Regions from separate parts of the Homo sapiens genome. Here regions 1 and 3 are each linked to region 2. The links are contacts of gene promoters, found by promoter capture Hi-C in blood cells and fetal thymus (Javierre and others, 2016). All regions are on one chromosome and are shown on one strand. The core of a region is centred on a gene start or on the middle of the fragment in contact, and the rest is flanking DNA. Distances in the headings are between cores, read along the strand shown.

Evidence for each region. The method cuts DNA at HindIII sites, captures the fragments that hold promoters and counts their contacts. A CHiCAGO score of 5 or more calls a contact.
Region 1: a fragment that was not itself captured here is called in contact with the fragment with the promoter of MTCL3 in region 2 in 1 of 17 cell types (fetal thymus); the score reaches 5.6 in fetal thymus.
Region 3: a contact is called between a fragment that was not itself captured here and the fragment with the promoter of MTCL3 in region 2, in 1 of 17 cell types (total B cells). The highest score is 5.9, in total B cells.

Annotation. Positions count from the first base shown.
Region 1 is chr6:129,488,634-129,491,333 of GRCh38, forward strand. All of the region lies in intron 56 of LAMA2 (laminin subunit alpha 2), which reads left to right. Among named protein-coding and RNA genes, the nearest start is that of ARHGAP18, 220 kb to the right of the region's middle. RefSeq lists an enhancer at 1,939-2,700. The HindIII fragment of the contact is 738 bases long and covers 951-1,688 here.
Region 2 is chr6:127,517,967-127,520,831 of GRCh38, forward strand. It overlaps MTCL3 (MTCL family member 3), which reads right to left and starts at 1,369. Exons shown (of 7, transcript NM_001400265.1): 1 at 613-1,369. It overlaps SOGA3-KIAA0408 (SOGA3-KIAA0408 readthrough), which reads right to left and starts at 1,369. Exons shown (of 13, transcript NR_174482.1): 1 at 613-1,369. The HindIII fragment of the contact is 11,602 bases long and covers 1,245-2,865 here.
Region 3 is chr6:126,002,537-126,005,236 of GRCh38, forward strand. All of the region lies in intron 7 of TRMT11 (tRNA methyltransferase 11), which reads left to right. Among named protein-coding and RNA genes, the nearest start is that of TRMT11, 17 kb to the left of the region's middle. The HindIII fragment of the contact is 278 bases long and covers 1,223-1,500 here.

The DNA of each region.
Region 1 (2,700 bases), core at 70-2,569, 2.0 Mb after region 2:
CATTCATTGTTAATTACAGGATAATATATGACATATTAGTGTGTAGTCACTGAACTCTGTGCCAAAACAGTAATACATTTGCTACCATAATGGCTCATTCGGCACTCTAAGGTTAAAATGCAATCTACTCTATAAGCAAGTGCCACATTAAACTGATTGACCAGAGATCGCAAGTGACCATGAGAACTTCACCCAGAAAAAATTTTTAATGCTTTATATGCCTATTCTATGGCATGATTTGTGTCACATACTAGACAAAGATGATTTGTTTTCATTGTTCTGAATGTATGTGAGATCTGTAATAACATCCTTTCATCACAGATGAGAAAATATTAACTAACCTGCCCAAAATCATGTACTACAAATAACAGGACCAGGTATTAAATGAGATGATATATTTGACTTAAATACCTCCATCTATGCACAGCCAATAGATTATTCTTACATTTTTGTGTGACCATAAAGGTTTATATTACTAAATGTTGATTATGATGTATGATTATTAATTTGGAGATATTTGCATTATCCCAACACTTTTCAGATTTTCAGACTATGCATGTCAGTCATCATTTCTTTTCCTAAAATCCTGGACAAAATGATAGCTTTAATACCGCCTCACAAAATAATTGGATTTTCACCAAACTGGGGGCCAAGCTTCTCAAGAAGCTCCTTCTCCCTTGTCCTCTGCCTCTCTTTACTCCTCCTCCCTCATTCTCTCTCCCTTCCACCCCTTCATCTGGAAAAATCTCCCTTTAGTCACTTTGGTATCTAATTTCTTGGCACTCCAGTGACCTCTGCCTCCTATATCTGCTTTGTCCTCTGATCCTTCTCCTGGCATCCGCCTTGGTGGCCAGCAGTTCTTACTGGACAAAAACATCAAACCCTAAGAGCCTGAAGTAGTTACTTAAGCAAATAGGACAAGCAACTGAACTGAGTTTTTCTTCTGGGAAAGCTTTCTTCACACAGGTACAGAAATAGGCTAAAGGTCAGGAAGTAGGGTGAGATATTTTAGGAGTCATTTGGGGTTTCCAGAATGAGATAAAGATTTTAACACTGAACCCTAAATATTTTCTTTCTTAACATCCAAAGTATGTTCAAACAGAAAAAAGATTAGATTCTATTTATTATGTAAATTACAAACATTAGGACACATTTCTCTTAATATCTTCTTCCACGTATGCAATCCAACTGATATGGTTTTAAAAAAAATCTTAAACCCACATTCCAAACAAATAAGAAATAGGGTATAAGTAATCAAGTAATTATGAAACTCTAAGAATCAGCCACTGAAACTGTAAAAAAAAAAAATAAAGCTGACCTATTACAATACTAAAGTAATACAAAGTTTAATGTACCTTTTTGCACATAGCAGGCCTCAGTAAAAAGCTGTTAAATAAATACTTTTTAAAAATGGAAAACACACCAGAATCATAATGGACATATTGGCAATGTCCTTCTCAATAAAAACTAAAGAAATGATCTAGATTTGATGTTCCTAAAAGGTAAAATAGGAGCAGGATTTAGCTGTAGTTTTCTAGCAATGCCCTTTTTAAGTAATACAGCCTCAGGGCAATCCCTTAATTAATATTTTCCGCTGTTTGAAGTAGGTATTTTTATCTCCATCTTATAAATGAATGAAATGGACCTGAGCATGATTAAATAACTTGCCCAAGGTCACACAGCTAGTAAGCTTCCACACTAGTACTTAATTCCAGTATGTTCCTCCTGAAAGCCCACACTCATTCTCCATCACCACCCTGTGAATTGGTTTAAAAAAAATAAGGGTCACTATGATGGTCCTTGTGGCAGAACCACACTACAGAGAGAGGCTACACCAGAAAGAGGAAGGCCTCTAGCTTTTTAAAATTCTAATCAAGAACAGAGATTTACTCTCCTTGGACAATCTTTAACAGAGGCTTATATCCTTCATTAAAACCTTAGAAGCCCTGTGATATCATGTTGCTAAGAAGAGGCTGCTTTCAGCTAAAGGGGAAAAAGAGTGTAGGGGAGGGGCTTCTCAGTGAGTCACACATACCCGGAAGTGAGTGGTTTTCTGAAATTCTCGTCTCAGGAAACCACCGACACTCTTAGCAAGGAAGCTGAACCTCCTGGGTTTTGCCAACACATTTTTCCATAGTTTGGTAAAGAAAGAAACCTCAAAAGTATGTCATTTCCCCCTATTTTCTCTTTGAAACTAAATTTTACCGGTCCCTTCTTCACCCCCTTAACAGTGACGTTTTTGAGCCACAGCGAAATCCATTTTTTGTCCCTTTCTCTTACTTTTGAATTATCTTACTTGTAAAGTGCCAATTCAGAGCATCTTTACCCTGGCTTATTGTTTTTTCCAGTTCTACATGTGGTTTTACTTCTTTATAAAGTCAAGTAAGAGGGTACTTTAGGACTGAGGTTTCCATCCAAGTACTCCGGTTTTCTCTCCAGATATGAAGTAAGTTTTCAGTAATCCATTCATGATCCCCAGGCTAGTGACTAATGCTTATGACTAATAGCACCATGATGACTGTTAAGACCGAAACTCAAAACTTGCTTCCGGAACAAAAGAGAAAATGCCTTTGGTCATTTTCATCAGAACTCTTTGTCTCCTTCTGATTCTTGGCCCAGGGATCCAAGGATTGTTGTAAATAAGTAGCATGAGGTTCTCAATTAGCAGTGTGTGAGTTCTCTCTCATAAGCAAATTAGGA
Region 2 (2,865 bases), core at 119-2,618:
TCTTGTTAACATCTATTGTTAGCATCACAACTTAGCATGCAGTAATTCCTCATTTTATAAAGAAATATTACCGAAGGGTTCCTAATCCACCTCCCTTTCTGTTTCTGGCATCTCCTTCCAACTCACTTTGAAATATAAAGGTGAACAAAGAAGACATCGGGGGAAAATTGCCCACCAACTTGTTTTCTACATCTTCTCTCCCAGTCGCGATACTACTAGAATGTCTGGCCTAGTTTATCATCATGGGTGGCACTAACATGGGCTATCTAACTAACTTATATTGCCAATGCAAACTTATTTTTGTTTTTAATCAGGCAGAATAATTCCAGAGCTGAGAAGCCAATGTTTAAACTCAGCCCTCAGACAGCATTAACCCAGGCGAAAGCTTGTGTTCCAGTAACTGGGCTCCACAATCAAAGGTATCCGGCTGCTGTCACGTGGTTCCCACAAAGTGACAAGATGCTGCATCTCTTCAAGGCTTTCCCGGTGAAAATTATCACCCAACCAACCCCTGCACGGCTTAGACCAACACTTTTAATCTCAAGTTTTATCCGCCTGCTAACCCACCCCATCATTCATCCCCAACCCTTTAGAAATCCAGAACTTGCTCACTTCTCAGCAGAGGCGAGGTTTCCAAGTAGCTGAACAAATCAACAGCACTTTCCTTCTGATATTCCGGGGATCTCAGGGTTTATTATTGTGCCTTTCTGCGCCGAGGAAAGTTCAACTTCATATTATTGTATGCGACTTTCCGGCTGAGCATGACTTTGGGCTCGCTCGCCGCAGTTCCACACCCACTCGATTTCTCCAAACAATGGCGGTAACGTCAAGATTCAGCTGCCCCCAGAGCGGGTGACTTCCCGGCGGTCCGCGGCTGGGCTGGAGCTGCAGCTCTCAGCAGGCTAACACGCGAGGTACCAAGCTGGGCCAGACGCTCCCCAGGAAGTGCAGAGATGTTCATGAGCTGACCTCACCGAACTGGGCAGGAGAGAAGGCGGGATTGCAAGGGACGATAGGGTAGAAGTAACCAAAGAGAGGTTACTTTCAAGAGGAAAGAGAAGAAGGCGGGGAGGGGGACGGGGGACGGGGGTGGGGAGTGGCGGGATAAAGAGACAAAAAGGCCAGAGCCACGCCCGAGATGGAAGATTGGCAGCAGCGCTCAAACTCCTTGCTCTATTCTCTTATCCCGTACTTGGCAGAGGATCCCAAAACCGCTCGAACACGGATGCACTGGTTTCCTGCAAAGCTTTGTCCTGGGTTCGGTCATTCTCCATCAATTATTTACTTGAGCTTCTTTTCCAAGGAGGCGGACTAGAACAGCCTTCCGGGCGTGACTAACATCTCCTGATGCAGCTGGCTGGCGGCTGCTGGGAGTTCTCTTTGTTCACTCACTTTAATTCTCAGTCGAGCTCTACACGCGGTGCTCCCTCCCCACCCCCAGCCCGGGCGGAGTCATCAGATGTCGTTTCCACGAATAGATAATGGTTGCCATGATGGGACCCACCGTCCCACAGACAAAGGGTTCTTGCGAAGCCACGACTAATTTAGTGCAAACCGAAATAAATATCGGCCCACAGAGATCCTTTACAGAACGGTTTGCCTTCAGTACGTTTTCCTGTTTTCTACTGAGTGCCGGTTTCTACCGTGAAAATGAGTAATTGCTGGGATCCATAATCTTTATAGTAGTGCATGCGAACAATAACAGAAACCAGGAAGAATACATTATATCAGCCTAAAAGGGAATTCATTTAAAAAGAGGAGTTCAGAATATACATGTCTTTACAATTTACACTAACCCATACTGTTTCACAGTAATAATATTTTTAAAAATTAAGTGGAATTTTCTCTTTTTCTTTTCAGTTTCTTCTTTCAGTGGTGGGCGGGGGGCATGGGAGCCTCCCTTCTACCTCTAAGAATTCCTTTGTGAGCTTGAGTATGAGAATAAAAGTAAGTACTGCTTTTGAAAGGGCATTTTAAAATTTAATTTGTCTTACATTTATATGGTGATTTTGTAAGTAAAAGGAAGAAGATATCTTGAAATAATAATAGCTTTTTGTGCCAACATGAATTTTGGCTCAAGAGATTCAATTTTCCAAGTGTTGATCTTGCATTAAAAGTGAAATAAAAACAATTTAGGAGTAGTTTGCATAAAAGCAATTATTACAGCAAAATAAAAACATGCTCAAGCTCTGGTTATTCTTATCTTTAGAGACACATAAAACAAATATGATATCACGATAAAATCATTCATGTTCCAAAATAGGTATTAAAAGCCAATTTTGAGCCTGGCACTGTCCAAGGTACTGGGATGCAAAGCTGAATCAAGAAATTGTCCCTGTGCTGGGGACACTCAAGCATACTGGTGAAAACTGAGATAATTTCCTTATTTTCTTTCAAATACCTTTGGGAACAGGAAAAGTGACATCTGTGACATTTATAATAAAAAGCCCACACCTCGACTAGCATACCAAAAATAAAGGAAAAAAAAAAAAGCAAGTGAAAATGTAATCACAAGTTGGTTTGAATTTATATTAGGCAATTTCTTATTATGTACCCAAACTTGAGCTGTAATATCCTCAAGAAATATCAAGATGCACATGTCTCATCCAATCAAAATGGATAAAGTAGATACAAATATTTTTCAGCTCAATCTTTACCAATAAAATATTGATACTGTAAACACAGTCTAAAGACACAGAATATGCATAGTCCTGCTTCTCTAAGAATTTTTACTCTGCTCAGGCATCTATGTTTTGATTTTTTTTCCGAAAGCGGTATCATTTATTTCGTGCAAATAGTAACTTTAAAAAGTAAAATAAATATTAAGAATGGATTATTATGTATCCTTAAATCAAACAATGTGTC
Region 3 (2,700 bases), core at 112-2,611, 1.5 Mb before region 2:
CAGTAAAGTCAAATACTGTGCCTGCTTTTTCCCTTTTCATTTAAAATTCATTTGGGTTCATTTGTTCCAGTTTGCCCTCTGTTTTAGGTTTTTATCTCCTATCCCCCACTCCTTATTGATTTACTTTTATTTTCAAATATGTATAAGATGAACTTGCTTCCAAAAGTCAGAACTACACAAGAAGTGGTACTCAAAGAGATGTCACTTTACCTTTATAACGCTTCCAGCCTGTTCTCCCACCTATCCTAGGTGACTAACTTCATTGTTTTCTAGTTGATTCTTCCTGTTTCTTTTTGTAATGATAATACATTTTCTGATTCATAATGGAATATATACATTTTCTTATTTTCGCTACTTTCTTACACAAAAGGTATCATACTGTGTGTGTTGGTTTTAACTTTGCTTTTTTCACTTAATGGTATTTCCTGGAAATCACTTCCTGTCAGTTCATGGAGCTTATCTTTATTCTGTTTTAGTTTTGCTTCATGAGTGTATGTACCGTAATTTATTCAAACAATCTCCTATAGTTGGACATCGGTAGTTTTCAGTATTTTACAGTTACAAATAATGCTTGAAATGACTAACCTTATGAATATATACCTTTGTAATGTTGGAGATGTAGCTCTAGGGCAAGCTTATCCAACCCGCAGCCCATGGACCACATGTGGCCCAGATGGCTTTGAATGTGGCCTGATACAAACTTGTAAAGTTTCTTAAAACGTTATGAGAATTTTTGCAATTTTTTTTAGCTCACCAGCTATCATTAGTGTTAGTGTATTTTATGTACAGCCCAAGACAATTCTTCTTCGAATGTGGCCCAGGAAAGCCAAAAGATTGGACCCCTCTGTCCTAGGGTAAATTCTTACAAGTAGGATTTCTGGGTTGAAGAGTGTATGCATATGCAGTTTCATTAGATACTGCCAAATTTGTCTCCATTATACTATTTTGGATTCCTACCAACAGTTGTAGGAGAGTCCCTGTTTTTCCACAGTCTCACCAGCAGAGTATATTTCAGGCTTTTGAAGTTTTGCTTGTTCTGTTGGGTGAAAAATGATATCTCAATGTAGTGTTAATTTGTATGTCTATGGTTACGAATGAAGTATCACAATTTTTTATATTTTAAGGGCCATTATGACTTTCTTTGATTTGTCTTTTTTTGTCTTTTGCCCATTTTTTGATAGCATTTTTGGTCTCTTTCCCTGATTTTTCAAGGTCCTTTGTAAGCTTGAGATACAACCTCCTCACACTCCCCTTATTTTTCTGTGATGTATGCTGCAGTATTTTCCCTTAGCTTGTCATTTATCTTTTGACTTTGCTACTAATTGATTTTTGCCATGCAAAAGTTTTCCCCACACTCAAGTTATAGAGGAATTCATTTGTGTTTTCTTCTAGTGCTTTTGTAGTTTTACATTTTTTCTTTTTAGATCTCTGGTTCATTTGGAGATTATTCTCCAGTATGATGTGAAGAATGGATTTAATTTACCTTTTTCCAAATGCTAAAGCTTTTATTCTTAATCTTGTTCTTGGACTTTAAAAACTTTTTTTGTCAATTGAGAATAATTCTTTTAGATATATACATGTAGAAAATGATTAATATATATACATACACATAGACTAGACCACAGAGTTAAAAAATATGGTTGCCAGTATGGGTAATATTTTTTTGTTGAGTAGATGAGGCTAGATTTTGAAATTATCTTCACAGCTGTCAATATATGGACCATTTATAGTGTGTTGAGGGGCAAGGAGACCTGCTTCTGTTTGCTTTAGGGCAGCTCCTCACAGTGGGTAGTATATTTGGAACGTCTGACTGTTCATATAGTACAATTAATAGAAAATGAGAGGAGGATCTTTGCAAAGGTGCTGCTGAAATATATTTTCGTAATTTGTGTTTGTAGTTTAAGTATAGCTTTAGGACATCAGTCAATTTTTGGTGCTTTTGTTTTGAAACATAATAACCAATAATTGTGAATAGACACAGGTCTTAAGCACAGTTTGTCCTCTCTTGGGCCTTTTGCCTCATCGATGGGTGGTACCTTCTGAAGGACTGGAGAAATACGTAGCTCTGTGTCCTTCTCCATGGCCATAGTTTTCACAAAACATTTGTTGATATTTTTCTTTTGGTTGCCTTTTAAATAGTTTTTTAAAAAAAATTCATGTGTCTAATCCCCTTTTTATTTTAAAGGTACAAAATTGAAATGTATGTAGTTTCCCAAATGTATTGCTCACTTACTACTCATGGTTCGTGATTTTTCTCAGGGATATAGAGTAGGGTAGAAAGCTTCTGGGAGACTGAAAGGAGAAAAATAATCTTTTCATGCCTAAATACTTTTCCTTTTTTCCTTTAGACTGTTTGCTACTGTTGTTTAGAATGACATTATGAGCGGCAGAAACACACTTTTCTTTCAATTTTAACAAATACATTGGTTTTCATTTTAGTAAAAATTCTTTTTTTAAAGTGTGTGTCTCCACTTTCCCAAAGGGGAAGAGACATAGCATTGTGTCATCTCTTAGTTGTTAGGAAGTGCTACTATTCTCATGTGAGTTTGGCTAAAGGAATGATCATCATGAATTTATTGAATACCTATTAATGGCACAGCCCTGTCTGTGATACAGTACAAGACTTGTGAATGGCATATATAACACTCTTATTAACAGAGTGTGTAGCTTTACTTAATTTAATGTAATTTGTTTAGTAGC